Linked DNA regions of Homo sapiens: all the other regions are linked to region 1. The links are contacts of gene promoters, found by promoter capture Hi-C in human tissues and cell types (Jung and others, 2019). All regions are on one chromosome and are shown on one strand. The core of a region is centred on a gene start or on the middle of the fragment in contact, and the rest is flanking DNA. Distances in the headings are between cores, read along the strand shown.

Region 1 (7,285 bases), core at 2,958-5,457:
GCAGGAAGGAGGCAGGTGAGCCAGGAGTGACAGAGGAAGGTGCAGTCTCAGAGGGTAGCACCTGATGGGCATCTATAAGGACTTCAGCTTTTATTTTCTTAACGATGCAAGTTGTGCCTAGGGCTGGAGGGAGGATTTGAGGGTGGGCTGAGCAGAGCAGAGGACTGATCTGGCCCATGGCATGTTTTAACAGGATCACTCTGGATGCTGCATTGAGGGGACAGTGACGGGGGTAGGGACAGACCATGTAAGGACTTAGGGAGGTGACTGTAATAATCCAAGCAAGAGCTGTGACATGGCTTGGACAAGAATGGTAGTGATGGAGAAGGCAAGAAATGGCCAGAGCCAATTTATTCCCCTAAAAGCACTTTGTGAGCTCGGGCAACAGAGTGAGACCTTGACTCTAAAAAAAAAAAAAAAAAATTAAAAATTAGCCAGGCATAATGGTAGAAGCCTATTGTCCCAGCTACTTGGGAGGCTGAGATGGAAGGACCCCTTGAGCCTGGGAAGTTGAGGCTGCAGTGAGCTAAGATCCCACCACTGCCCTCCAGCCTGGGTGACAGAGTGAGACCTTTTGTTTTTTAAGAACAAAAAAGCACTTAATGTTGCTTTTCCATCATTTGCAACTGGAGGAGGCTCAGCTAACGTGCCCTTTTTCACCAAATGTTAGATGCCATCCACAGTAAAGCCACCATTATTTTATGCAACACTTGGAAAAAAAGCAACTCTGCCTATTAATCTGTGGCATGATCCTTTCTCTGCTTATTATATATCATGTGAGCGTGAACAGCTATGACCACTTGCACACAATGAGTTAAACTTTTGCCTTAGGAATGTGGATGACGGTCCTGTCACAATTACACAATGGCAAATATTTAGCTGTGGTTTAACATCAAAGTACTTAAAAATCAGACTTGTTCTGGTCAGGCAGGTGTTTGCATCTTCAACCTTCAACCACGCAATGACTATGGTTTGGGAGAGCTTGTTCACTGGACCATGTCACTCCCTGCTTAAAACCCTTCAGTGACTCCAAAATGCCTATAAGATCAAGTCCAAACACCTGACCACGGCCACTGGGCCCTTTAAGGCCGGCCAGGCATTCAGGGTTCATCTTTTGTGCCTTTCAGCTTCATACTCCACAATGCAGGAGTACTAAGCCCCCTCAATCCCCCCACATGAGCCAGGCTTACTCTTTACCATCTGCCTTTGCACATACTCTTCCCTTTCTCTGAAACGTCCTTCCCCCTTCTATCACCCACTTCTTCCCCCCAGGTAACTCCTGCCATTTCTGCAAGATGCCAGTCTAAAAGAGGAGGCCTTTTCAGATCCCTCCCCCCACTCTGAGTTAGGGACCCTCCTCCAGGATATCAGTCGCCTGAGCTCACCCACGTCAGGGCACTTACACACCCTGTGTTTTCCAGGTGGTTTACTTGCTCTGGGAGCAAATTGTTAACACTTTGCCTTCATCCTCCTCATATTCCCGGTCCCCAGCACAGGGGTGGGTACAGAAAATACAAATAGTAAATGCCTACGAAATAAATGAGTCGGTTGGTGGCAAGTAACACTGTTTTACCTGTACTAGGAAACGTGTGAGAGACATACTGGCAAAATCAAACAAGTTAATGTTTCACTGGGCTGGGCAATGGCAAAATGAGGAGAGCCCTAACCTTATATTTATTTATATTTATTTATTTATTTATTTATTTTGAGATGGAGCTTCACTCTTGGTGCCCAGGCTCGAATGCAATGGTGCGATCTCAGCTCACTGCAACCTCCGCCTCCCGGGTTCAAGCGATTCTCCTGCCTCAGCCTCCTGAGTAGCTGGGATTACAGGTTCCCGCCAACATGCCCGGCTAATTTTTGTATTTTTAGTAGAGTCGGGGTTTCATCATGTTGGCCAGGCAGGCCTCTCCTGACCTCAGGTGATCCGTCCACCTCGGCCTCCCAAAGTACTGGGATTACAGGCATGAGCCACCGCGCCCGGCCTCATAACCTTGTATTTTAACAAGCACCGAAACAGGCAGTTAACCTTAGGCCCAATCTGCTTATAGAATAAGGAACAGGAACAGGAAAATCAAAAGGTTGGCTACACCAGAGATAACTATTTTGCCAATGAATATTTTCAAGCTGGGGATAAATGACAGAGACGGTTTTCAATATAAGGGTGGCAAATTTCCTCTGTAAATAAAAGAGAAAGATGCTAGGAAAATTAGCAAAAGCATGACCTTTGACCCAGGCTAGAACCACAAGCCCGTGCAATTGAGGGTGATGCTGCATAGTGTTCAAACTCTTACTGGGACATGCAAGAGCCTCCATTACCTCTGTGCCCACCTCTCCTCTGTCCACAACTGGCTCCTTACCTGCTCACCTGCACATGCTCCAGACTAAAGATCAGGAAAAGCTGGGGCCTCTCTGTGCCCCCAAGACCCTGCACTGGTTTCTCAATGCCCTTATCACCATGGACGGTCATTCAGGGCCATTAGACTAGGAACTCCTTTAAGGAAGGCTCTCGTGGGCCTGACACAGCAGGTGCTCACTTAACCTTGACTGTGTTCATCTATCTTTTTGAGAAGGGCTGTCCAGGCAGGCATCTGAGTAGCACTCACAGCCTTGGGAGTTCTAGAAGCCATCCATGATGTACGCACACAGCCAGTGCCCTGGGTAATGATGACAGGCACAGCTTTCAAAGCAGACTGTCCTGCCTCAAGCCCAGCTCTACTTCTTACCAGCAGTAACCAGGACAGACCCCTTTCTAAGGTAGCCACCTCAAGGGGCATGAAAAGGATGGAGTGAACACTATGTGCTAGCATGGCTGGAACATAGTAAGTGCTCAGTATGTCTCAGCTCTTACCTGGGGCACAGTGGAGACTGGCGAGTCAGCACAGTAGGAAACCAGCTTTGAGAGGCAGAGGGCTCTTAACATAAAAAACGGCACAGCTCGGTACTGCTTGCATTTATAAGGCACTTTTCACGTGGATTACTAGTGGTTAAGCTTCAAACAACCCTATAAAGTAGCTAGTGGTATCATAACTCACATTTCATTGATGAAGGGACTAATGTTTCAGAGAGGTGAAGTAAGTTTTCCAGGGACACGCTGCACTGGAAAGAGGGTTCTGCTAGTCCAAATAGGGAGCTCTATCGACCTGAACCGCAAGGATCCAGCCAGGAAGTTGAGATGCGGTTGGACAGCCTACACCACTTCTGCGCCAGGGGGAGGCTGCCCAGAACAGGACGCCCTCCTAGGAACCACAGAGTTTAGCAAAGAAAAGTTTCCCTCTGTCCTGGGTGATTGAGGAGAGCTGCATCCAACAGGCCCTTGCACGAGACCAAATGCGTCGTGGGCACGCGCACACACACACAGACACACGGTGCAACCCGCCCTTCCAGGCCACCTCCGTCAGCCTCAGGCTCTCAAGGAAACCTCGGTTTCCTGGGGAGCCCGAGCCTAGAACCATCCCGACTGGCCTCCGAAGTCAACTCCTCCCTTCCACACCCCCAAGTGCAGGTTTCGGGTTCAACTCTCTGAAGCCGCCTCCCCAGTCCCGCGCTAGGCACCGTCCCGACTACTAAACGGCACTGGGTACCTAGGAGTTGCCTCAGCAGAAGCGCCGCGCCTGGCACGGGTCGGGCACACACTGCATTCGCTGGGCGAAGTGGCCATGCCTGGGTCCCCGCGCCGGGCAGCATGCGGTGCCCCGCAGGGCTCGGCCGAGGGTGGTGGAGGAAGGGGATGCCCCGCGAAGCGGGAATTCGCACCTCTCGCTCTCTTACCTTCCTCATTCTCGTCAAACACGGGGGGCTTGTGGGAGTGGTTCCCGCCCATATTCCGCCGTTGCTGCCGCTGCTACATGCCCGGCCGCTGGGATGCCGGATGCGGGATGTGGGACGCGCGCAGAGATGCGGGATGCCGGGGGCGCGCCCAGTCCGGGTTGTAGCCGCGCGCGGAGCCCGAGGGGGCCGAGCACCGTGCAGGGGCGGGGACGGCGTCCCCCTTCTCCTGGACGCCCTTCCGACTGCGCTCGCAGGGACCCCGCTCTCGCCGCGCCTTCCGCCGTGCCCCGCCTCGGGCTGCGCTCGCAGCTCCTTACTCCAGTGCCCGCCCGGGAACCCGGGAGCTCCTCGCGCCGGGGCCAACGTGCGGCGCTCCTCGCCGGCTACAGCGGGCGGGAGACGCGAGGCGGCGCGGGAGCAGGGGAAGGAGGGGAAGGAGCGGGGGAGGAGGGGACGGACGAAGGCAGCACGCAGTGGGCGGCGGCAGGGCGGAAGGAGCTGAGAAAGGGATCGGCCCGGAAGAATCTGAATCCCTGCTCGGCCCTCCTCCCTCGGCCGGGAGCTCGGTCCCTGCAGGCAGTAAGCGGTTTGTCAGCACCCACTATGGCCAGGCCTCGGCTACGCGCTTTGTTAGCACCATCCCACATCCGCCTCCGACAACCCAGCAGTAAGAAAGCATCGTTCATATTTTAGAGCGCAGTAGACGGAGGTCTAGAGGTAGAGGGGCTCTTAGGTCTGTGGTTAGTCGGCCCCGGCTGCGAAGGGAGTCCCAGGACTCCCCGCTAGCCTGTATTTGCCCATTCATATTGGGATGGGCAGTGGAGTGTCTGCTGGCTCTCCAACCGACGCTGTTCCTCTTAAGGTTTTTCTCAGTGTTTAATGAATGAAAGTATCTGTTTACTTTCTGACCCCTTAAGATTAGATACTAATCTGACCCCTTCATTGTACATGGGGAAACTGAGGCCCCAGACAGCCATAGTTTGCCCCAAACCATTCTCCCTGGGAATGGCTGGGCATGAGTCTCGGGATTCCCCCAAAATTGGGCGGCATCGGCGTCCGATTTAGGGGCGAGGCTAGCATGAGGGTCCCTGGGCTCCTGCGGCGGGAGCCTGGATCGGGAGATACGCGCCACAGTTGCGGGTGCCTAAGTAAGGGGTGCGGCAGATGCGCCCCAAGACGTGTGGGGCGAGCGCGGGTTCCCAGGACGCTCCCTGAGGGACAGGCAGGTCCCCCTGCCTTGCAGTCCTGCGGGCCCAGCTCTCCGGGACTGCAGGGAATCTTTGGCTACATCCTGCCATCTGCTGGGCGCCTGGAACCACTGTCCGTGCTTTGATAGAAAGCAGGGGTTCTTTGTGACTCTCTCCATCCTATCTCGTCCCCCAGTCCCCGTCCCCTACCTGGTCTCTCTCTCCAGTTCTCTCCCCTTCTTTCTTTTTCTTGGGAGAAGGGTGAGGGAAGCCGGGGAGACTCATACAGAAACAAAACAAAACAAAACAAAACAAAAAATCTCTTAAAGGCAGTGGGAAAGAACTGAGAAGGTCTGAGGCAGGCCCACCCACCATGACCCAGAGCTGGCTCTACCATTTACTGGCAATGTGTCCCACTTTGGAGTTCTTATCTGCAAAGTGGGCTGATTGATATTAACTCCTTGGGTTGTCTGTGAGAATTATATCAGGTAATATTTATAAAAGCAGGCAACAGTGCCCGGCATATAATAAATGATGAATAAATATTTCTTGCCTTTCATTCCACCAACAAGCATACACTGAGTAGCCAGTGTGCAGCAGGCAATGCCCTGAACACAGAGCTGGCCCCTAGCTCAAGAAGCATAGGGCGGAATGTGGACAGGCATGGGCTCTGGGCTCATTCTACCCAGGTTTCATTCTGCTTTGCCCCTCATTAGCCAGTTAACTTGGATAAATTACTTAACCTGTTCTGGACTCAGTTTCTTCATCTGAGTCCAGAAGGTGCTAATAAGAGAACTTTCCCTTTCTAACATTGTTATGAGGAATATATTGATATTGTGCTAGGCCGGGCGTGGGGGCTCACACCTGTAATCCCAGCACTTTGGGAGGCTGAGGCGGGTGGATCACCTGAAGTCAAGAGTTTGAGACTAGCCTGGCCAATATGGAGAAACCCCATCTGTACTAAAAAAACAAAACTTAGCTGGGTGTGATTGCCAGGCCTCTGAGCCCAAGCTAAGCCATCATAACCCCTGTGACCTGCACATATACATCCAGATGGCCTGAAGCAACTGAAGAATCACAAAAGAAGTGAAAATGGCCTGTTCCTGCCTTAACTGATGACATTACCTTGTGAAATTCCTTCTCCTGGCTCAGAAGCTCCCGACTGAGCACCTTGTGACCCTCGCCCCTGCCTCCCAGAGAACCCCTTTGACTTTAATTTTCCATAACCTACCCAAATCCTATAAAACTGCCCCACCCATATCTCTCTTCGCTGACTCTCTTTTCGGACTCAGCCCGCCTGCACTGAGGTGATTAAAAAGCTTTATTGCTCACACAAAGCCTGTTTGGTGGTCTCTTCACACGGACACGCATGACAGAAATGTCACCCACCTGTAATCCCGGCTACTCGGGAGGCTGAGGTGGGAGAATCCCTTGAACCTGGGAGGCGGAGGTTGCAGTGAGCTGAGATTGTGCCACTGCACTCCAACCTGGGTGACAGAGTGAGACTCCGTCTCAAAAAAAAAAAAACAAAAGAAAAGAAGGCATTGGCCAGAGAGGGTGCTGGCGCTGAGACTGGAAGGGCAAGGAATCAACCGGGTTGGAAGAAGAAAGGAGGCTACTGGTGCAAAGTTCTCCAGGCCTAGAGAGTGGGACACTTTGCAGATGCTGGGAGATGTTCCACACGGCTGGAATTAGTCTTGCAGTGCAGTGTTCAGTGACAGCGTGCATGTGTATTGAGAACTCTGCATGTCCAGCTCTGTGCTAACTCTTTGCAGGGTGCTAGGACCTCCGGCAACCCCTTCACTTCTCTGCTCCCCATCCATAGAGAATGTGCCTGACTCTGGTACTTCAAGCGCTCTGCATGGATTTTCTCATCCTCACAGCAACCCTGAGAGGTAGGTGTGTCACCATCCCCACTCTGGAGGAGACTGGGGCACAAATAGGCTAAGCCAACTCAAATGGTTGAGAAGTGCAAAGACCTAAGATTTCAATGCAGAAATTGGCCAGGTGTGGCGTTTCACGCCTATAATCCCAGCACTTTGGGAGGCCTAGGTGGGAGGATCACTTGAGGTCAGGAGTTCGAGACTGGCCAACATGGTGAAACCCTGTCTCTACTAAAAATACAAAAATTAGGCCAGGCACGGTGGCTCACACCTGTAATCCCAGAACTTTGGGAGGCCAAGGTGGGTGGATTACCTAAGCTCAGGAGTTCGAGACCAGCTTAGCCAACACGGTGAAACCCCATCTCTACTAAAAATACAAATATTAGCCAAGCGTGGTGGCAGGCACCTGTGACCTCAGCTACTCGGGAGGCTGAGGCAGGAGAA
Region 2 (7,749 bases), core at 1,594-4,093, 440 kb before region 1:
GGAGACTGTTGTGGGGTGGAGAGTTGGGGAGGGATAGCTTTAGGAGATATACCTAATGCTAAATGACGAGTTAATGGGTGCAGCAACCAAAATGGCACATGTATACACATGTAACTAACCTGCACTTTGTGCACATGTACCCTAAAACTTAAAGTATAATAATAAAAAAATTTAAAAAATTAAAAAAAAAGACGAGGCTCTGCTATAATAAAATAACTTATCTTTTAGGCCTCCTGACATAATTTAGTCACATTATTCTTTGTCCAATTCAGTATATTGGCAACCTAGTCAAACTGCCTTACCCCAAATTTGGTTGACAGCCTTCATAAGACTGCCTAACAGGCCAGGCGTGGTGGCTCAAACCTGTAATCCCAGCACTTTGGGAGGCTGAGGTGGGTGGATCACCTGAGGTCAGGAGTTCAAGGCCAGCCTTGCCAACAAGGTGAAACCCCATCTCTACTAAAAATACAAAAATTAGCTGGGCATGGTGGCACACACCTGTAATCCCAGCTACTCGGGAGGCTGAGGCAGGAGAATTGCTTGAACCCGGGAGGTAGAGGTTTCAGTGAGCCAAGATCATGCCACTGCACTCCAGCCTGGGTGGCAGAGTGAGACTGTCTAGAAAAAAAAAAAAAATGCCTACTTAAAACAACAAAAAGATCTTAAAATTTAGCCTTATCTCATTTTTTTCAAAAAATAATTTGGGTCCAACCATCAATTGTAAACCAGTGAGTTTGTATTACTATCCAATGACAAAATTCTAAAATAAAAACTACAAGATCTTCATTTGTATGTATATATGTCTGTCTAGATGTATTTATGTATATATACATGTATTACACTGTATCTTCTGTTTACATAATAAAATCTGATGTAGCCAGCCAGAAATCTCTTAAGAAATTGTATTTTGATTGATTTCAATAAATGAGCACTCATATAAAATATACAGTAATTAACCCATTTTATAAAGTTCATGTCACGTAAGTAAATCTTTGGTAAACTAGTTGGTTGAGGCAGGGGAATCGCTTGAACCTGGGAGGCGGAGGTTGCAGTGAGCCAAGATTGTGCTGCAGCACTCCAGCCTGGTGAGAAAGCAAGACTCCATCTCAAAAAAAATAATAAAAAATAAATAAAATAAAATAAAATTGTTGTTAATGAAATAAAATTTAAAATGTCTTCATAATTGTCTACATACGTTTTTTTGCCTGGGTTTACTTATCAGACAGTTTTATATTTTGCTTTTTCTATGTTTTCAGATCATAAGGCTATGAACCCAGCCTAAAACAAAATGATCTTCCTGCAATTACTTGATGAATAGAATTAATTAAGTATTGCTAATTTAATCAAAACAGCCATATTTTCTGAGTTATGGACAGGAAACCATGCATTTAACTTTAGGGTTCTTGCTTAGGTAAACAATTGATATTTACAGGCTAAAAAATTATTAATAGAGAAAAAACTTGAAATGATGATTAGCTTTGTCTAATATCTCAATTCTCATAGGTAATTTAGGTAAGCTATTAAAAATTAATAAAGCAGATAAACGTAAATTGGACAAATGTCTATGAATAAACTTTTCATGTGATTTGAAATCTTAAGGTTATGTTTAATTAATAGGTACTCATTAAATGTCTGGGTCATTTTCAATTACGACTTCAAATTATAAACTGGTTCTCGTTCAAAATATTGATACATGACAGACAATTAAAGATCTTGAGTCCTAGAGTTTTACTAAAATTCAAGGTTACTGAGAGTTAAAAATTTTAATTAACATATAACATTCTGTATATAAAATATAAAAATATGAAGTTTTTAATAAGAATTATAAGACAGACATAAAATATATTCTTTATTGAGAAAAAAATGTTTTGTCTAATTCAGAGGCTATTTAGAGGTGGTTTTAAAATATAAATCTAGCAAGAAAATAGAAACAAGATATAAAAGAACTGGTAAGTAGGAGAGAAAGATGTGAAGAAAGTTATAGATATGAAGATAAATTTTTGCTAAGGAAGGTTGCAAAGAAAAGAGACTAATTTTGAATGAGAAAGAATCTTGTGTGGTAAATTTTTGTCCTCAAATAAAATGACTGAGTTATTTAAGGAGGAGGCAGAAGACAAAGCAGAATATTTAAGGCATGTCATGCATGGTCTATGTGAGTCACAGAAAGGCTTGTGAAAGGGAAATTTATGAAAGTAATGTGTGTGATCAAGTTGACTACAATTAAAAGGTAATTATTTATGATAACCTTTCTAACAACTGAGTTTTGACATTCAAAATACATTAGTAAAAAACTAAAAAAAAAGTTCCCTATATTTAAATAAAAAATGTTTTTGAAATATTGATCTGCTCTTAATAAAATTGCAGGATGTTCTGTTTGTTAATTCTGGATTCCAAGTCCAGAGTGCTCACCATTACACCATAAAATCTTACATTGATTTTGTTTTCTTTTTCAGACGGAGTCTCACTCTGTCACCCAGGCTGGAGTGCAGTGGCGTGATCTCAGCTCACTGCAACCTCTGCCTCCCGGGTTCAAGTGATTCTCCAGCCTCAGCCTCCTGAGTAGCTGGGATTACGGGAATGTGCCCCATACCTAGCTAATTTTTGTATTTTTAGTAGAGACAGTGTTTCACCATGTTGGTCAGGCTGGTCTGACCATATAAGAATAGGGTTATCAGGTTGTAACTCTGTACATTGTTTATGAATTCTTGTTATCTGCCTATAGACCAGCCTAGGTCCTAAATTAGAATTCTTCAAATTCAACTCTCTTTTTTAAATAAAATTACTAAAATGAGACTTGCTTTGTTCCTAAAGCCTGATACATTGAAACTAGATAAATTTTAAGGAGCAGGTTTCATGCCTCATGTGTGGGCCACAAAGAAGGTTCACCAAGCTTCCTGATGCCATAACCAGAGACATTTAAACTGCAAACCAAAATAAGAAGGGGGTGTTTTCCACACTGTAAACAGCTTATCCTAAGGTGTCAGAACGAGACTCCATATCAGAATAAGACTCCTCCCCTCCTCGATGCTACCTTTTTCATTTGGCAGGATAATGCTGTAATTCACATTTTACAATACGTAATTGCTCTAGGCTATTTTGACGATAACCCTAGCACAGCTTTTTGGTCAAGTTGTATTGGTGATTTCTTTTGTCAGTTGACATTTTCTTCTTTAAGTCAACCCAGTCATAAAATGTGACTCAATGGCTACAACACGTCTCACCCAGTTTCCTCCACAGTCTTTAGATTTTAGTTTGTTGCCCTTAGGCTTCGGCTGTGAGTTCAAAATCATTGTACAAACTAATTGTATTGTGTTGTTGTTAATCATTTATCATATTATAATTGTATTATAATTTTTAAACTTTGCTCTTACTGCCTCTCCAATCTTTGTGATGCCAAGTCTCCTAACAGGATAATGTTAACTCAACACTTCCAGATGACTGCTCATGCCCATGGACTAATTAGATGGAAATCAATACTAGACCACAGTCAAACCCATTCTGGGAAGATTTTTCCTTCTGGCCTTTTTGTTACTTTACTGTGGTTTGGGTCCCTGACAAAGACCCACATATCTTCCCTGCAACATGGGACAGAGACAACTGGGACAGATCCATTCTGGTGCTGAGGGATAATTAAGCCTAACTACAGCATGGTTGATCAACAACACTTTCAGAGAAACAGCTTGACCAAAAAGGGAACTTGTAAAAACTGATCATATGAACTGGGTCATTCTTGTCATACCCAACTGAAATACAGTAAATGACCTGCTGCAATTCTAAGACTGGTTTTGCCCACTGCTATTACTTACCAATCAGAACTTGCTAACTGCTCAACATCTTACTGGTGCCAGTGAAACTTCTCAAAGAGCAATATGTAATATTTCTCCTTCTTATGAAACCTCTAACCTTCTCTTTGTTCTTTGGACATACTTAAAGACCAGCCAATCTGCAATGTATGCCCTGAATTGCAATTCTTTCCTCCCAAATAAAACATTTTAGGGGGGTGGAGCCAGCTCCAGTCCCCTAAATAGGAACTGCTCCAGTGTACAGCTCCCAGTCTACAGCTCCCAGCATGAGCGACGCAGAAGACAGGTGATTTCTGCATTTCCAACTGAGGTACCAGGTTCATCTCACTGGGGAGTGTTGGACAGTGGGTGCAGGACAGTGGGTGCAGCGCACCGAGCGTGAGCCAAAGCAGGGCGAGGCATCGCCTCACCTTGGAAGCGCAAGAAGTCAGGGAATTCCCTTTCCTAGTCAAAGAAAGGGGTGACAGATGGCACCTGGAAAATCAGGTCCCTCCCACCCTAATACTGCTTTTACAACGGTCTTAGCAAACGGCACACCAGCAATTACATCCCGCGCCTGGCTGGGAGGATCCTACACCCACGGAGCCTCGCTCATTGCTACCACAGCAGTCTGAAATCAAACTGCAAGGCTGCAGCGAGGTTGGGGGTGGGGCGCCCGCCATTGCCAAGGCTTGAGTAGGTAAACAAAGAGGCTGGGAAGCTCGAACTGGGTGGAGCCCACTACGGCTCAAGGAGGCCAGCCTGCCTCTGAGACTCCACCTCTGGGGGCATGGGCATAGCCAAACAAAAGGCAGCAGAATCCTCTGCAGACTTAAATGTTCCTGTCTGACAGCTTCCCCGAAAGTAGTGGTCCTCCCAGCACGCAGCTGGAGATCTGAGAACGGACAGACTGCCTCCTCAAGTGGGTCCCTGATCCCCGAGTAGCCTAACTGGGAGGCACCCCGCAGTAGGGGCAGACTGACACCTCACACGGCCAGGTACTCCCCTGAGACAAAACTTCCAGAGGAATGATCAGGCAGCAACATTTGCTGTTCACCAATATCCACTGTTCTGCAGCCTTCGCTGCTGATACCCAGGCAAACAGGGTCTGGAGTGGACCTCCAGCAAACTCCAACAGACCTGCAGCTGAAGGTCCTGACTGTTAGAAGGAAAACTAACAAACAGAAAGTACATCCACACCAAAACCCCATCTGTACATCACCATCATCAAAGACCAAAGGTAGATAAAACCACAAAGATGGGGAAAAAACAGAGCAGAAAAACTAGAAACTCTAAAAAGCAGAGTGCCTCTCCTCCTCCAAAGGAACGCAGCTCCTCACCAGCAACGGAACAAAGCTGGAGGGAGAATGACTTTGACAAGTTGAGAGAAGAAGGCTTCAGAAGATCAAACAACTCCGAGCTAAAGGAGGAAGTTTGAGCCCATGGCAAAGAAGTTAAAAACCTTGAAAAAAATTAGACGAATGGCTAAGTAGAATAACCAATACAGAGAAGTCCTTAAAGGACCTGATAGAGCTGAAAACCATGGCACGAGAACTACATGACGAATGCACAAGCCTCAGTAGCCGATTCGATCAACTGGAAGAAAGGGTATCAGTGATGGAAGATGAAATGAATGAAAAGAATCGAGAAGAGAAGTTCAGAGAAAAAAGAATAAAAAGAAACGAGAAAGCCTCCAAGAAATATGAGACTTTGTGAAAATACCAAATCTACATCTGATTGGTGTACCTGAAAGTGACGGGGAGAATGGAACCAAGTTGGAAAACACTCTGCAGGATATTATCCAGGAGAACTTCTTCAGTGTAGCAAGACAGGCCAACATTCAGATTCAGGAAATACAGAGAACGCCACCAAGATACTCCACGAGAAGAGCAACTCCAAGACACATAACTGTCAGATTCATCAAAGTTGAAATGAAGGAAAAAATGGGAAGGGCAGCCAGAGAGAAAGGTCGGGTTACCCACAAAGGGAAGCCCATCAGACTAACAGCTGATCGCTAGGCAGAAACTCTACAAGCCAAAAGAGAGTGGGGGCCAATAATCAACATTCTTAAAGAAAAGAATTTTCAACCCAGAATTTCATATCCAGCCAAACTATGCTTCATAAGTGAAGGAGAAATAAAATACTTTACAGACAAGCAAATGCTGAGAGATTTTGTCACCACCAGGCCTGCCCTAAAAGAGCTCCTGAAGCAAGCACTAAACATGGAAAGGAACAACTGGTACCAGCCACTGCAAAAACATGCCAAATTGTAAAGACCATCGAGGCTAGGAAGAAACTGCATCAACTAACGAGCAAAATAACCAGCTAACATCATAATGACAGGATCAAATTCACACGTAACAATATTAACCTGAAATGTAAATGGGCTAAATGCTCCAATTAAAAGAGACAGACTGGCAAACTGGATAAAGAGTCAAGACCTATCCGTGTGCTGTATTCAGGAAACCCATCTCACGTGCAGAGACACACATAGGCTCAAAATAAAGGGATGGAGGAAGATCTACCAAGCAAATGGAAAACAAAAAAAGGCAGAGGTTGCAATCCTAGTCTCTGATAAAACAGACTTTAAACCAACAAAGATCAAAAGAGACAAAGAAGGCCATTACATAATGGTAAAGGGATCAATTCAACAAGAAGAGCTAACTATCCTAAATATATATGCACCCAATACAGGAGTACCCAGATTCATAGAGCAAGTCCTTAGAGACCTACAAAGAGACTGAGACACCAACACAATAATAATGGGAGACTTTAACACCCCACTGTCAACATTAGACAGATCAATGAGACACAAAGTTAAGAAGGATATCCAGGAATTGAACTCAGCTCTGCACCAAGTGGACCTAATAGACATCTACAGAACTCTCCACCCCAAATCAACAGAATATACATTCTTTTCCACATCACACCACACCTATTCCAAAATTGACCACATAGTTGGAAGTAAAGCACTCCTCAGCAAATGTAAAAGAACAGAAATTATAACAAACTGTCTCTCAGACCACAGTGCAATCAAACTAGAACTCAGAATTAAGAAACTCACTCAAAACCGCTCAGCTACATAGAAACTGAACAACCTGCTCCTGAATGACTGCTGGGTACACAACGAAATGAAGGCAGAAATAAAGATGTTCTTTGAAACCAACGAGAACAAAGACACAACATACCAGAATCTCTAGGACACATTCAAAGCAGTGTGTAGAGGGAAGTTCATAGCACTAAATGTCCACAAGAGAAAGCAGGAAAGATCTAAAATTGATACCCTAACATCACAATTAAAAGAACTAGAAAAGCAAGAGCAAACACATTCAAAAGCTAGCAGAAGGCAAGAAATAACTAAGATCAGAGCAGAACTGAAGGAAATAGAGACACAAAAAAACCTTCAAAAAATCAATGAATCCAGGAGCTGGTTTTTGGAAAAGGTCAACAAAATTGATAGACTGCTAGCAAGACTAATAAAGAAGAAAAGAGAGAAGGATCAAATAGATGCAATAAAAAATGATAAAGGGGATATCACCACCGATCCCACAGAAATACAAGCTACCATCAGAGAACACTATAAACACCTCTACGCAAATAAACTAGAAAATCTAGAAGAAATGGATAAATTCCTGGACACATACACTCTCCCAAGACTAAACCAGGAAGAAGTTGAATCTCTGAATAGACCAATAACAGGCTCTGAAATTGAGGCAATAATCAATAGCTTACCAACCAAAAAGAGTCCAGGACCAGATGGATTCACAGCCAAATTCTACCAGAGGTACAAGGAGGAACTGGTACCATTCCTTCTGAAACTATTCCAATCAATAGAAAAAGAGGGAATCCTCCCTAACTCATTTTATGAGTCCAGCATCATCCTGATACCAAAGCCGGGAAGAGACACAACCAAAAAAGAGAATTTTAGACCAATATCCTTGATGAACATTGATGCAAAAATCCTCAG
Region 3 (7,121 bases), core at 470-2,969, 270 kb before region 1:
TTACATGGGCAATGACTGTTTTTATTTTTTTTAATTAAGCTACTTTACTTTGAATTTCTGTGACTTGGAACTGAGTTACAACTTTTCATGTATTTGCTACTGGATAGAAGAATATAGATGCCCCAAAAGAAAACACAGGAATCAAACATAATATGCCGACTACAGATGCACAATTTGTATTCTAATAGTTGATGGACTATTGAAACATTGCATTAATAACCAGCGAGTTCTGTACTCTCAACTCACAGCTAAACTGTCAAAGGGCATCTCATTCAGTATTCCATCACAACTCTTTGGAGGAGCAACATGAATTTTCAGAGGGAAACTTGCATACTGGAATGAATTCTAAAGAGGAAAATCAAAATGCTAAGAGAACAATATTTTAAGCAATAATTCAGGTTGTGGCTTTTTCTTGCTGCAGATCCACATTCTTCACCAGGCCACAGACCCTACATTCCCAGAGACACTCAATATTATTACTGGAGAACACAGAATGACCTTTCATTTATCTCTCTGTAGTTTTGCACTATTCTACAGCTTTGTGACATTGTCCCTTTTGCTTCTTGTATTAGAATTAGAATTATATTCTCATAATAGTGCTGAACATTGTCATGGAAATGATGGAGATCACAAATAAGAAAGCTAAGCTCTATCACAGTAACTCTGACCTATGGAAAAATCTGGAAAATTAGGCTCTCCTTGCAAGAGCAAAGAAAATTGTGTGCTGTGAAGGCCTAAATCCTGGCCTGGCTATTGCAATAGAACTGCATAAAGAATGCGATTTTCCATGTTTTATTTTTTAAAAAATTATTAATTTCCTACTTTGTTCCAGAAAGGATTCAGGTGACTTGTGAAATGTATATAACATAATAGAATTAAAAATAAGGAAGACAAAGATCAAGTCACAGAATAAAAAAGAAATCCAAGAAAACAGAATCAGGAAAAAATACCCCAATTTATGCCTCAAGATCCTGTATGCTTCCCTGAAATGGCCCATCAATGTGTCTCAAATCTCCCCAGCACACAGAGCAAAAAGAGAAACATGATCAGCTACATGATTCAGAGCTGATGTGGAAAAAAAAAACAATTGTTTAGGAAAAGCAAGATTTTTGTCCTGGTACTGAAATCAGTGGGAAATTTCTTCCACTGGATTCTTATGAAGATGGTGTTCTGTAATGTGGTGAACCATGAGTCTACATAAAATAACTCTAAACACAGTAATAAGTGGAACAGGAATTTTTTGCATGATGTGCTTCAAGGTAGGCTGAAGGCATTAAAAATCCAATTTCATAGAAGCAATGCCACATGGGGTAAAGCAATGAGGCTGTGCGTCATGCTCACGGATGAACTTTCTTCATACCAGGATAAATTTAGAGCAGAGCACGAGGTGAATGTTCTTCAGGGACTACTTCACGAAGACAGGCTCGCACGCACAGCAGCAAGTACTCAGTAGGCTTCTCCCATGCATTTGGTCCTTGCAAGAAGCCAAGGATTTAGTGGGAGAAGTCGGCACATGAGTGCTCACCTGGGCTTAAGATTTCATAAGGGAGCCCAGATTTTGCCGTCATGTTAGGACAAGTCCCTGGATGGACCCACACTCTCACAATTCCACACGTTCACCCACAATATTCCTTATTCCTGGTGTACCACCTCTGTCCTCTTGTCCATCACTCACTTCTCAGCATAGTGCAGGGTTCCCAAACCCAGAGCAGTTTTGCTCCCCTGGGAACATTGGACAATGTGTGGAGACAGTTTTTGTTGTCACAATTTGGAGGGATGCTGCTGTCATCTAGTGAGTTGGAGCCAGAGATGCTGCTAAATATCCTACAATGCACAGGACGGCCTCCACCACAATCACCTACTGCAAAATGGCAACAGTGCTGAGGTTGAAAAACCCTGCTTAAGACTGACGCTCCCTCCTTTAAGAAGCCTTCCCTAACCCCGGAAACTGAGGCAGGTGACCCCCTAGTCCCTTATAATAATAACAGTTAACACTGATGTGGTGCAAATTCTGTGCCAGACACCGTTCTAAGTGCCTTATTTTCTTATTTTTATTTTTTGAGATGGAGTCTCCCTCTGTTGCCCAGGCTGGGGTGCAGTGGTGCAATCTTGGCTCACTGCAACCTCTGCCTCCTGGGTTCAAGCAATTATCCTGCCTCACCCTCCCCAGTAGCTGGGATTACAGGCCCATGCCACCACACCTGACTAGCTTTTATATTTTTAAAAGTGACAAGGTTTCATCATGTTGGCCAGACTGGTCTTGAACTCCCGACCTCAAGTGATCTTCCTGCATCGGCCTCCCAAAGTGCTAGGATTACAGGTGTGAGCTGCCGTGCCCGGCCTAAGTGCTTTACGTATATGCGCTCATTTAATGTTCCCAACAATCCTTTGAGATAGGAGTTATTACAAACTGCCTTCGATAGCTCAAGACCATGAGGTTCAGAGAGATTAAGTAACATGTCCAAGATGACAGCCAGGGAATAGCAGAGCTGGGACTGAGCCAAGATAGTCCATGTCCAGAACCTAGACTCTGTGCTTGATGCCCTATAGCACTTTCCTTGTGGCCAAGTCACCATTGCTCTTCTGGTCTCTTTTCCCCACCAGCCAGTGAACTCTGAGTGCAGGGACCTAGCTAATTCAGCACCATCCCCTGCATTTAGCACATAGCCAGGAGCATTCCACACACTCCGGAATGAAAAAGCCACAAACGCCTGAAACACCCATATTCTGTGTGGCACATTGGGTCAGTCAATGATGTCTACACAGAAGTGGGGCATTGTACAGAAAAAAGACAGAGGGTAGAGGGTTGATGGGGAAGGAAGGGTGCTAGGCCCTGCTGTTTATGTCACTACCTACAGGAACCTCCTTTTTCTCTGGCCTCTTCTTGTCACAGAGACCAGGGACTCCCATTAGCCTGAGTGACTCACCAGTCTCTCCCCATAGCCGTCTCCCTCCCTTGCAGGGTGCAGAAGTGATAGACCTGATGAGGGAGTCCAGAAGAAGCAGCCGTGCTCAGCACAGTCCCCTCGGGCTCCCCTTCTGCTTCAGAACCTGCTCATAGTGGGCTTACACTCCTGTCTGCTCTCTGCAACAGCCAGGGCCTGGCTGGTGGAGGGGGACTTGCAGGTGATCACCGTTTCCTGTGCCTCGGAGGTGATTCCATTTCAGAACTCAAGAGGTAGCAAGCCGTTTTGGCTACCAATCTAAAGTGGGTTTCTCTGACTGACTGTTAGCATGAAGTGGATACTTCCACCTCCACCTGTCAGACTCCTGTCTCTCAATTAGTCCTAAAATCGAGAAGGGAGGAGAGGTGCTCTTCACAGACCCCCTGCTCATCCCTTAACACTTGTCCCAACTAACCGTGGGACGTGGGCATTATCACCCTCAATTGCCCAATGGAGGAAACCAAGGACAAGAGAGGTTGACTGGTCCAAGGTCACTAGGTCAGTTTTCTTGGAAAGCATGTCATGTACTCAATCATCAGCCTTGGAGGCTGCTTACAAACTAAAGGTCAGCCATGCTGATAACACATGAAATACACGTGAACACATATGAGGGAGGCAGTGCCTGTTGCTGGGGGAAATCTGGAGTTGGAAAAGCTTGGTTCAGCTCCTCCTCTTACCTGATGAGTGACTGACTCTCCATCTCACCTTGCCCAGGGCCTGGCAAACAGTGTAGCATCCACAAACCTTGTGCAGTTGTTAAAGGTAGGGGAGGGCTGGAAAGGGAAAGGAAGAGTCTGGAGGAAACCCTAGACCTTTCTTAGTCTCCAGGCAGCACAATGCCACTTGAACTATTTGAAACAGCCACCTTTCTCCACTTCTTCTTCCTGAGGCAAAAGTCACTGGGTGCCCAGAGATGACTCTGTGGGATTCAGAAAATCTTGGCAGCCAGGACAAACCACATGTCTACAACACTCATCTCCTGTGTTTTTACTGTGTGGCAACTGCAGGGGCAATGAGCTGAGCATCTCCTCAGGCCACTTTCCATTCCATCTGACCTCCGAGGGTAGCAGATGGAGGGGAGGTCTCACTCACTATGCTCACCTCTAGCGATTCTTAAAAATGTAACAGCCAGCAAGAGAGGAGCTAAGAATAGCCTCACACGCTACAGAAATCCAACAATGGAGCGCTCGGCCTTCTGACAGCTCATATTGTACGAGGAAAAAAGAGCTTATCAAGCCTGACTTGTGCCTGATACATGTCTTTAATAACATTCACAATGATAAGCTTATTATTATTTTTCATAGACAAAATCTTGCTGTGTTGCCCAGGCTGGTCTTGAACTCCTGTCCTCAACCAATCCTCTTGCCTTGGCCTCCCAAAGTGCTGGGATTACAGGTGTGAGCCACTGTGTTCAGCCAGCCCAACCCCCCACCCCCACTCCCACCACTTTTTTTTTTTTTTTAATTTGACTTGAGGCACAAGAGTCTTGAAGCCACTCAAACATGATGGCTCTCATTGTTCTTCACACTGGACTGATTCTCCTATCTCCTTCCCAGGAAGTCGAAGGACGCTGGTTAGCTTCCAATGGCCTCCCGTAGACCAAGGCGACAAGATGAGAACCTCTCAAAGCCATCCAGCACCTCCAGGCAGAGGCAGTTGGGGGCAGGAGCAGTCGCGTGATGAGGTGAAGGCAGGCTTCAGGTCCACGGTGCCCCCGTCCCACTGGAGGGGCTTTGCAGACTGTAAAGTGCTATCTATCTGTATAAATGCAGAATATTGCCCTTGTGCCTTCATGGTTTTATTTATTTCAATCTATATCCTTCATGCTTCTAAAGAATTTGTAGTGGCTGACAAAGGACAGGTAAGACTGATAGAGGAGATAGTGGGAAAAATGTACAACGAAGGAGAGGCACACGTACTGTTCACGGGGACAGACAGTGAGCCTGAAACAGTAGCTCCTGCTCCCTTAGCAGTGGAAAGAAAGCAAAGGGCAATGGGGAATGACCAACACAGCCCTCACCACTTGATTAAATAAGATGAAGCCAAACTGCTCTTCTTGGGCCAAATTCCAAAAGACATTTATAACTTGCATTCTCTTACAAGGGGCATTGAATGAAAGAATGGGAAAGGATAAATGATAACTCACATATGCTAAGTGCTTCCTATGTAGTAGCCATGGTCCTAAGTGCTTTTTTTTTAATACCATTGACCGAGGCTCCTTGCTCTATGTGAGCTCTTTACATTGGAGATCTCACTTAATCTTCCAACACTTTGGTGTAGGCATTATTATGGCTATTTTAGAGGTGACAGAACTGATGTTCAGAGAAGCTGAGTAACTTGCCTAGAGTCGCACTCAGCTTTGCTCCAACCCCCTCCCTCTGAAATCCTTTTGCCAACCACATCTTCAAAGCCCTTTTGTACTCTCTCAAAGACCCTTCCCTTCAACTACACAGTGCATACTCTTCTGAGTCTACAGTGATGCACTTCTCATCATTCAGTATACATGCATCATCTATTGAACATAATCGACCTGTTCCTAAAAACCAGTCATTCTGTTTGAAGACACTAAGAATGTATTTCCCATTATTTAAGTGGGAAAAATTACAATGCATCACTCTTCAACCCAAATTTCTTAACCAATTTCTTAAAATACAATGTAAACACAACAAAATAGATAGGATATCCATCTGCTAATATGTCAAGTGTTTCCATTCCATCCTCATGATCAAACACTAAATATAGTTAATGATGTTTTAGTTTTGGGCTTTTGCAGTAACATGGTCTTGTTTACCCTCAGCAGTGTCTAAGACGCACATCCCTGTGGCGATACATACTTAATGTGATTTTTCAAACTGACTACACTTGGTTCTTACATTTCACTAGTTGTATTTGAAATGTAACTTGAGACTTGACCTGATATCACATTGTTAAAAATGTTATATTGAGTTTCAAGGCTGTAAATATAATTTTTTTCAATGTAAACAATAGCTGAAAAAGTACTGATAGATACACACAGGGTTAAGCCATGTGAAATTGCCAATGCTTACCATTTTGACTATGGAATAACAATTTCACATGGTTCAACCTAATACAGTCCATGCAGCCTTAGTAATGAAAATCAAGAGGCACTGGACCAAGAAAATGTTAAGTGCAGAGGCGTTCTGCAGGGTGAATATGCCTGAATGTTTGTTGAACACCTACTATGTACCAGGCCCTATCATGGGAGGGGGAATCATTCATCAACCAGATGTGGCCGCTCTACTCAAGGTGCTCATTGTACTCTAGGAGGGGAAGGATAAGGTAGTGTAGAAACACATAGGGGAGGGACCTATCAAAAAAGGGGAGGGATTCTGAAGGGGAAGAGACGTCTAGGTAGAGTGGAGACTTGAATTGGCTCATCAGTGTCTGTTCCACCCTCCTGCAAGTGTGCTTTCCTGTAAATGCAAAGGCTAGAAATCTGCCAAGTTCATTTCACAGACTCCCTTGCAGCTAGAGTTCCTGCATGATTTAGGTTTCTCAGTAAGTTGCATCCACATAAGACATGGCTAAGTGGGGCAAGGTCTGAGGTCTCATTCTGGGAGGCAGCTTCTCACCCGCAGCAGAGGCAGCCACATCCTCTGCAGGTCAGTTCTCCCTGTGACTTTGGGCAGAGCTCTCAGAGTTTCAGCCCAGAGTCAGCTCTTCTGCCTCCCAGGGATTCTGAGAAGACATTTCATACCCTGTAACAAATCTCTTTCTTCTGAACTAACAAGACTGTATTCTCTTCCTTGAAGCTGAGCCCTGGTTGATAGAACCAGAGAGGAGCAGAGAGCAAGGACAATGGTCCAGAAATAAGGAACAGCATGAACAAAGGCTGAGAGGAGTGGTGAGCATGGATTCCAGCTCTGTATGCCTGGGTGCGTGCTGGAGAGGGGTAAGATGGGAGTGAGGAGAAGACTCTTCAAGAAGGGCTTTGTAAGTCATGATAAGAAGTTTGGACTTTATTCTTGCACAAGGGGAAGCCACTGAGGATTTGGAAACAGGAGAAAGTCCTTGTCAGATTTGAGTTTTGGAACAGCTGCTCTGGCAGCTACATATCCAATTAGTTGGAGGACCTTTGCTTTAGGCAGGAGAGCAGTTGAGGCAATATTGCTTCATTGGTAAGCAGTGATGAGCCCTATTCAGGAGAGCACACAA
Region 4 (7,628 bases), core at 3,619-6,118, 300 kb before region 1:
GGGTCCACCCAGCTCTTCCTGGGGCACTCGGGAATCTTCGCAAAGCAGTAGTCCTGGAGCCAGAACATGATTGTAGTGGGCTGAATGGTGTCTTCCCAAATCTATGTCCCAGTCCTAACCCTGCTGTCTGTGAATGTGACCTTATTTGGACATAGCGTATTTGAAGATGTAATTAAATTAGGTATCTGGAGATGAAATCATCCTGGATTTAGGGTGGGTCCTAAATCCAATGACTGGTGCTGTTTTAAGGGAAAGAGATATTTGAGACAGGAAGACAGGGAGGATGGGGTCATGTGAGGATGGAGGTAGAAATCAGAGTGATGCTGCCACAGGCTGAGGAATGCTACCAGAAGGCAAGAAAGGTGTCTCTCATCTGTCTCTCCCTTCCATGCAGTCAGATATAAAGCCACCTCCTCCCTGATCTATTTCTCACATTGCAGCCCTGCCCAGGGAGGTGGTCACAGCCAGGGTGTGGGTCTGCTCAGTGCTTGACATGGAACCAGCCAATCCCAGTGCCTGCCTCTCTCAGTGGCATCCTCCTGGGTACATTTGGCCTCTGGTCTGAAGGTGCTGAGTCCTAACTAGCTCAGCAGAATGAGGTTCCCTGTCCTCCACTGCTGCTCCTAGAAATGTCTTCATCAAGGTTTAGGGCTCCAGCTCAGCTATAAATAAAGTGGTGCTTGAGGTTTCTGTAGGATTGTGTTCCTCAAGGAAGTTGAGAGGTTGCATAGCTGTGGTTCAGGGAAGGATTCAGGTATCATATCTTCTTAATGTAGTGATTCTCCTCCAGGGGTGATATCACTCTCTGGAGCACATTTGATGATGTGTGGAGATATTTTTGATTATCACAACTTGGGGGAAAGGAGTGGGAGATGCTTCAGGCATCTAGGGTGGGGAAGCCACAGCTCCACCTAAACATCCCACAGTGCACAGGACAGCCCCCATAACAAGGGATTATCTGGTCCAAAATATCAATAATGTCAAGGTTGATAAATTCTGCCAGTGCCTTCAGAATCTCATCATAAGTTCTGACAGATAAGAAAAAGTTAACCAGGTGGATAGAACAAATAAAAGCATTTCTTAAAGAGAGATAATCATGCAAAGGAAGAAGAGAGGTAGAAAACATATGAACTTGGAAGAAATGGAGGTAGTCTGGGCATGTAGACTACTAGGGTCTGTGCATGGAGCCAGACGAGGGTTGCAAGAGTCAAGTCTGGAGAGATGGGCACGGGGCAGGCTTATATATAAGGTCCTCATATATTATAACGATAATAGCAGTGGGCATTTTCACAGTGGCTCACATTTTTGATCACTCACTAGGTACTAAGCTTAAACATGCATCACACGTTATTTCAGTTTGTTTTCTCAACATCCCTGTGGGGTAGAGGATTCGTTTCCTGTTGCTGCTTTAACAAATTACTCCAAACTTCACGGATAGAAACAACAAAATGTATCTGGAGGTCAGAAGAACAGCATGGAAAGTCAAGGTTTTGTCAGGGCTGTGTCCCTTCTGGAGGCTCTTAGGGAGAATGTTTCCCTCCCTCTTCCAGGTTCTAGAGGTGTCTGCATTTCTTGGCTCATGAAATCATCAAAGCCAGCTACAGCGGATTAAGGTTTGAGTCTTTCTCATGTTGCATCAGTTTGACACCCACTTCTGCCTCCCTCTTTCACTTTATTTTTTAGTTTTTATATTAATTTTTAAAAATTTAATTTATACATATTTGACCTATTTATGGGGTACATACAATTTTTTAATGTGCATAGAATATGTAATGTTCAAGTCAGAATATTTGGGATATCCATCACCTTGAGTATTTATCATTTCTATGAGAAATATGAAGTATTTTAAGTATTTTAAGTTTTAAGGGAACAATTTAAGTTCAAGCTCCTAGCTACTTTGAAATATACAATATAATGTTGCTAACGAGTCACCCTTCTCTGCTATGGAGCATTAGAACTCACACCTTCCATTGGGGCCAGGCGTGGTGGTCACGCCTGTAATCCCAGCACTTTGAGAGGTCAAGGTGGGCGGATCACCTGAAGTCAGGAGTTTGAGACCAGCCTGGCCAACATGGCAAAACCTTGTCTGTACTAAAAACATAAAAATTAGCTGGATGTGGTGGCATATGCCTGTAATCCCAGCTACTCAGGAGACTGAGGCAGGAGAATCCCTTGAACCCAGGAGGTGGAGGTTGCAGGGAGCTGAGATGGCGCCACTGCAGTCCAGCCTGGGCCACAGAGTGAGACTCCATCTAAAATTGTACACATAGATCTATTTTTCTTCACCCCCTGCAATCTACATACCCTCTCCAGCCTCTGGCATCTACCATTCTACTTTCTATCTCCATGGGATCAATATTTTCAGCTCTTGCACATGAGTAAGAACACTCACAATTTGTCCTTGTGTGTCTGGCTTATTTCACTTAACATAATGACTTCCAGTTCCATCCATGTTGCTGCAAATGACATGATTTCATTCTGTTTCACGGCTGAATAGAATTCCAGTGTGTCTATGTATCACATTTTCTTTATCCATTTGTCTGCCAATGGACACTTAGGTTGATTCCGTATCTTCGCAATTGTGAATAGTGTGGCAATAAATATTGGCATGCCTGTATCCCTTTGATATACTGATTCATTTCCTTTTCATAAACACCCAGTAGTGGGATTCCTGGATCAGATGGTAGTTCTAGTTTTTTGGAAATCTCCATACTGTTTTCCATGGTAGTTGTACTGAATTACATTCCCACCAACAGTGTATCAGAGGTCTCTTTTCTTTACATCCTCACCAGCATCTGCTATTATTTTGTCCTTTTAGTAGTAGTCATTCTAACTGGGGTAAGATAATATCTTCTTGTTCTTTTGATTTTCATTTCCCTGATGATTAGTGATGTTGAGCAGTTTTTCATATACCTGTTGGTCATTTTTATGTCTTCTTTTGAGAAATATCTATTCATGTCATTTGCCCACTTTTTATTTTTATTTTTTTTTTTTACTGTTGAGTTCCTTGTATACTCTGGATATTAGTCCTTTGTCAGATGAATAGTTTACAAATATTTTCTCCCATTCAAAATGTTGCCTCTTCACTGTATTAATTGCTTCCTTTGTTGTGAAGAAGCTTTTTAGTTTAATATAGTACCATTTGTCTATTTTCATTTCCATTGTCTGTGCTTGAGGTCTTAGTCATCAAATCTTTGCCTAGAGCAATATCCTGAATTGTTTTCCTTGTTTTCTTCCAGTAGTTTTATAGTTTATTGTCTTACATATAAGTCTTTAATCCACCTTGAGTTGTTTTTTGTATATGGTGAGAGATGAGTCCAGTTTCATTCTTCTGCATATGATATACAGTTCTCCTAGCACCATTTATTGAAGAGGGTGTTGTTTCCCCAGGTACGTTCTTGGCATCTTGGTCAAAAATCAGTTACCTTAAATATGTGGATTTATTTCTGTATTTTCTATTTTTTTCCCATTGATCTATGTGTCTATTTTCATGCCAAAAATATACTGTTTTGGTTATAATAGCCTTATGATATTCTGAAGTCAGTTATTTTGATGCCTCAAGCTTTGTCCTTTATGCTTAGGATTGCGTTGGCTATTTGGGCTCTTTTGTGGTTCCCTATGAATTTCGGATTGTTTTTTCTATTCCTGTGAAAAATGATGTTGGTATTTTCATAGAGATTGCTGTGAATCTGTAGATTGCTTTGGGTAGTATGGTCATTTTAACAATATTAGCTAGTTAATTATTGATGAATCGAAACTGATGATTTTTGTATGATGATTTTGTATCTAGCCACTTTACTCGATTTATCAGATCTAAGAGTATTTTGGTGCAGTCTTTCGGTTTTTCTAGATATCATATCATATCATCAGCAAAGAGGGACAAATGACTTCTTTTTTAGTTTGGACGTTTTTTTTTTTTTTATTTCTTTCTCTTTTCTGATTGCTTTGGTCATGATTTTCAGTACTATGTTGAATAGGAGTGGTAAAAGTGGCATTCTTGTCTGATTCCAGTTCCTAGGGGAAAGGATTTCAGCTTTGCCCCATTCAGTATGATGTTAGCTGGGGTTTTGTCACATATGGCCTTTATTTTGTTGAGGGATGTTTCTTCTATGCCTAGTCTATTGAGAGATTTTATCATGAAAGGATATTGAATTTTATCAAATTCTTTTCCTGCATCTATTTAGATGATCATTTGTTTTTCCTCCTTAATTTTGTTGATGTGATGTACTAAATTTACCGATTTGCATATGTTGAACCATCCTTGTGTTCCTGAGATAAATTCTACTTGATCATGTGGATTAATTTTTGATGTGTTGCTGGATTTGGTTTGCAAGTATTTTCTTGAGAATTTTTACGTCTAAGGTCATCAGGAATATTGGCCTATACTTTTCTTTTGTTGCTGTATCCTTGTCTGGTTTTGGTATCAAGGTAATGCTGTCCTCATAGAATATGTTAGGGAGAGTTTCTTTCTCTTCACTTTTCTAGAATAGTTTAAGGAAAACTTTGTTAGCTCTTTGGAAGTTTGGTATAATTTGGCAGTGAAGCCATCTGGTCCTGGACTTTTCTTTTTTGAGAGACTTTTTATTACTAATTCAATATCATTACTTGCTGTTGGTCTGCCCAGGTTTTCCATTTCTTCCTGATTTAATCTTGGTAGGTTGTATGTCTTCAGAAATTTATCTCCTTTAGGTTTTTTAGTTTGTTAGTGCATAATTGTTCATCATGGTATCTGATGATCTTTCGTATTTCTGTGTTATCAGTTGTAATGTCTTCTTTGTCATTTCTGATTTTATTTGGGTTTCTCTCTTTTTTCTTATTTAGTCAAGCTGGTGACATATCAATTTTATCTTTTCAAAAAACCAACTTTCTTTTTTGTTGATCATTTGTATTTGTTTAGTCCCTATTTCATTTATTTAGCTCTGCCCTGATCTTTATTATTTTGTCCTTTTATTAATTTTGAATTTGGTTTGTTCTTCTTTTTCTAATTCCTTGAGGTAAATCATTTGTTTATTTGAAATCTTTCTACTCTTTTGATGTAGGCAGACATTTATTGTTATAAACTTCCCTCTTAGCACTGCTTTTTCTGTATCCCATTCGTTTTGGCATGTGTGTCTTGGTTTTCATTTGTTTTAAGAAGTATTTTGACTTTCTCCTTAACTTCTTTCTTGAACTAGTGGTTATTCAGGGGCATGTTGTTTAATTTCCATGCATTTGTATAGTTTCCAAAGTTCCTCTTGGTATTGATTTCTAGTTTTATTCCATTGATGCCTGAGAAAACATTTGACATAATTTCAATTTTTAAAAATTTGTTGAGACCTAACATATGGTCTAGCCTGGAGAATGTTTCATGTACTGATGTATTCTGTAGCTGTTGGATGAAATGGTCTTAAATGTCTGGTAGGTCCTTTTGGTCTTATGTGGAGTATAAAACCAGTGTGTTTCGTGGTTGTTGTTGTTGTTGTTGTTAATTTTCAGTCTAAGTGATATGTCTAATGCTGCAAGTGGGATATTAAAGTCCCCAACTGTTATTGTACTGGAGTCTATCTTTCCCTTTAGATCTAATAAAATTTGCTTTATATATCTGGGTGCTCCACCATTGGGTGCATATATGTTTATATTAAGCCCTTTATCATTATATATTGACCTTCTTTATCTCTTTTTAAGTTTTTGACTTAAAGTCTATTTTATCTGATATAGTAGAGCTACTCCTGCTTATTTTTGGTTTTTCTTTGCATGGAATATCTTTTTCTATCCTTTTACTTTCAGTCTATATGTGTCTTTACAGATGAGATACATTTCTGGTAGGCAGGATATAGTTGGGTCATGCTTTTAAATCCACTCATCCAGTCTATATATTTTAAGTAGAAAGTTTAATCCATTTACATTCAATGTTATTATTGATATGTGAGGGTATATTCCTGTCATTTAATTAATTGATTTCTAGTTATTTTGTATATCCTTTGTTCCTATTTTATTGTTTATCATTGCGTTTTGGTGGTATTCTCTACTGGTAACATTTGAGTTTTCCCATTTTTTGTTTGTGTGTTGTTTTACCAGTGGTTTTCATATTTTTGTGTGTTTTCATGGTGGGAGTTATCATTCTTTCACTCCCAGGGGTAGGGTTCCCTCAAGCATTTCTTGTAGGGCTGGTCTAATGCTGATGAATTATCTCAGCTTTTGCTTGTCTGGGAAAGACTTTATTTCTCCTTTATTTATGAAAGACAACTTTGAGTGTAGCATCCTTGACTTGCAGTTTTAAATATTTTTTTCTGAAAAATCTGCTATTAACCTGATGGGAAGTCCTTTATAAGTGACTAGATGCTGTTCTCTTGCTGTTTTTAATTTCTTTGACTTTTGACATTTTGACTAGAATGTGCCATGGAGTAAACCTTTTTGAATTGTATCTATGCCAGGACCTTTGAACTTCTTGTATCTGGATGTCTAAATGTCTTGCTAGACTTGGAGAATTTTCATTAAATAGGTTTTATTTCCCTTCCTTCTCTATTCTCCTTCTGGGACACTGAAAATTTGAATATCCAATTGATTTATGGTGTCCCATATGTCACATAGGCTTTGCTCATTATTTTTTATTCTTTTATCTTTATTTTTGTCTGACTAGTTTATTTCAAAAGATCTGTCTTCAAGTTCTTTCCCCTTCTTGATCTAGTCTATTACTGAAGCCTCTGAATGTATTTTGTATTTTATTAAATGAATTCTTCAGTTCCAGAATTTCTGCTTGGTTGTTTTTTATATCTATTTCTTTGGTAGATTTCTCAGGCATATCCTGAGTTGCTTTTCTAATTTCTTTGCATTGCTTTTCAATATTCTCTTTTATCTCACTGAACTTTAGTGTCAATATTTTGAATTCTTTTTTTAGGATTCAATACATTTGTTTTTGATTGGGATCTGTGTTGCCAGATAATTACTGTGTTCCTTTGGGGTTTCATATTTCCTTGCTTTTTCATGTTTCCTGTGTCCTTACATTGTTACCTGTGCATCTGGCATAATAGTCACTTTTTTCAATTTTTTGAATTTGCTTTCATAGGGGAAGACTTTTTCCTAAAGATGTGTATATTGTGTTGGCAGTGTAGAGAAATTTGGCTTTGGTTCTGGGTGGGTGCAGCAGTGTAGTCTCTGTATGGTTTCTTCAGGTATAAAACAGCATTGATAGTGTCTGTTGTTTCCTTGGTGGCTTAGTATGTTGTTGTTTACGGAGGCTCTGCTGAAGTTTTGCTGGGCACTGGGATACAAGGTGGGCCAGTCTTTGGGCCACATTGGTGGCAGTGATGGAGTGCATGTGCCTGTCCTTGGGCCCCAGGGTGGCATATACTGGCACTGGCTTTATTTGTTCCAGGCAGGCCAGCTCTTGGACCTCTAGGTGGCTTTCTCAGGTGCTAAGAATGGCAGTAGTGGGCCAGGAAGTTTGGTGGGTTCTCAAGCTCCTGAGTAGCAGGCATGACATGAATGATGGGTAGTCACAATGGTAGAACAACCCTTTGGAACCCAAGCAGTCCATGCTGGTATTTGTAGTGGCAGTGATGGGCTGGGCAGGCCAGCCCTCAGACCTACAGGTGGCACATGTGGGTGGGTACCTGCTGTGATGGTAGTGGCAGGCTGACTGGGCCTGA

Evidence for each region. The method cuts DNA at HindIII sites, captures the fragments that hold promoters and counts their contacts. A contact is called where the count stands out against the background at its distance.
Region 2: a contact is called between a fragment that was not itself captured here and the fragment with the promoter of STK32B in region 1, in 1 of the 25 tissues and cell types used here (dorsolateral prefrontal cortex).
Region 3: a contact is called between a fragment that was not itself captured here and the fragment with the promoter of STK32B in region 1, in 3 of the 25 tissues and cell types used here (H1 embryonic stem cells, IMR-90 fibroblasts and heart left ventricle).
Region 4: a fragment that was not itself captured here is called in contact with the fragment with the promoter of STK32B in region 1 in 1 of the 25 tissues and cell types used here (lymphoblastoid cells).

Annotation. Positions count from the first base shown.
Region 1 is chr4:5,048,402-5,055,686 of GRCh38, reverse strand. STK32B (serine/threonine kinase 32B) reads right to left here and starts at 4,207. Exons shown (of 12, transcript NM_018401.3): 1 at 3,772-4,207. The coding sequence starts at 3,823. RefSeq lists an enhancer at 2,967-3,505. The HindIII fragment of the contact is 7,679 bases long and covers 590-7,285 here.
Region 2 is chr4:5,482,999-5,490,747 of GRCh38, reverse strand. The region is part of intron 11 of STK32B (serine/threonine kinase 32B); the gene reads right to left. Among named protein-coding and RNA genes, the nearest start is that of LINC01587, 38 kb to the left of the region's middle. The HindIII fragment of the contact is 4,995 bases long and covers 346-5,340 here.
Region 3 is chr4:5,319,293-5,326,413 of GRCh38, reverse strand. The region is part of intron 3 of STK32B (serine/threonine kinase 32B); the gene reads right to left. Among named protein-coding and RNA genes, the nearest start is that of LINC01587, 200 kb to the left of the region's middle. The HindIII fragment of the contact is 4,391 bases long and covers 1-3,914 here.
Region 4 is chr4:5,348,911-5,356,538 of GRCh38, reverse strand. The region is part of intron 4 of STK32B (serine/threonine kinase 32B); the gene reads right to left. Among named protein-coding and RNA genes, the nearest start is that of LINC01587, 170 kb to the left of the region's middle. The HindIII fragment of the contact is 3,055 bases long and covers 3,341-6,395 here.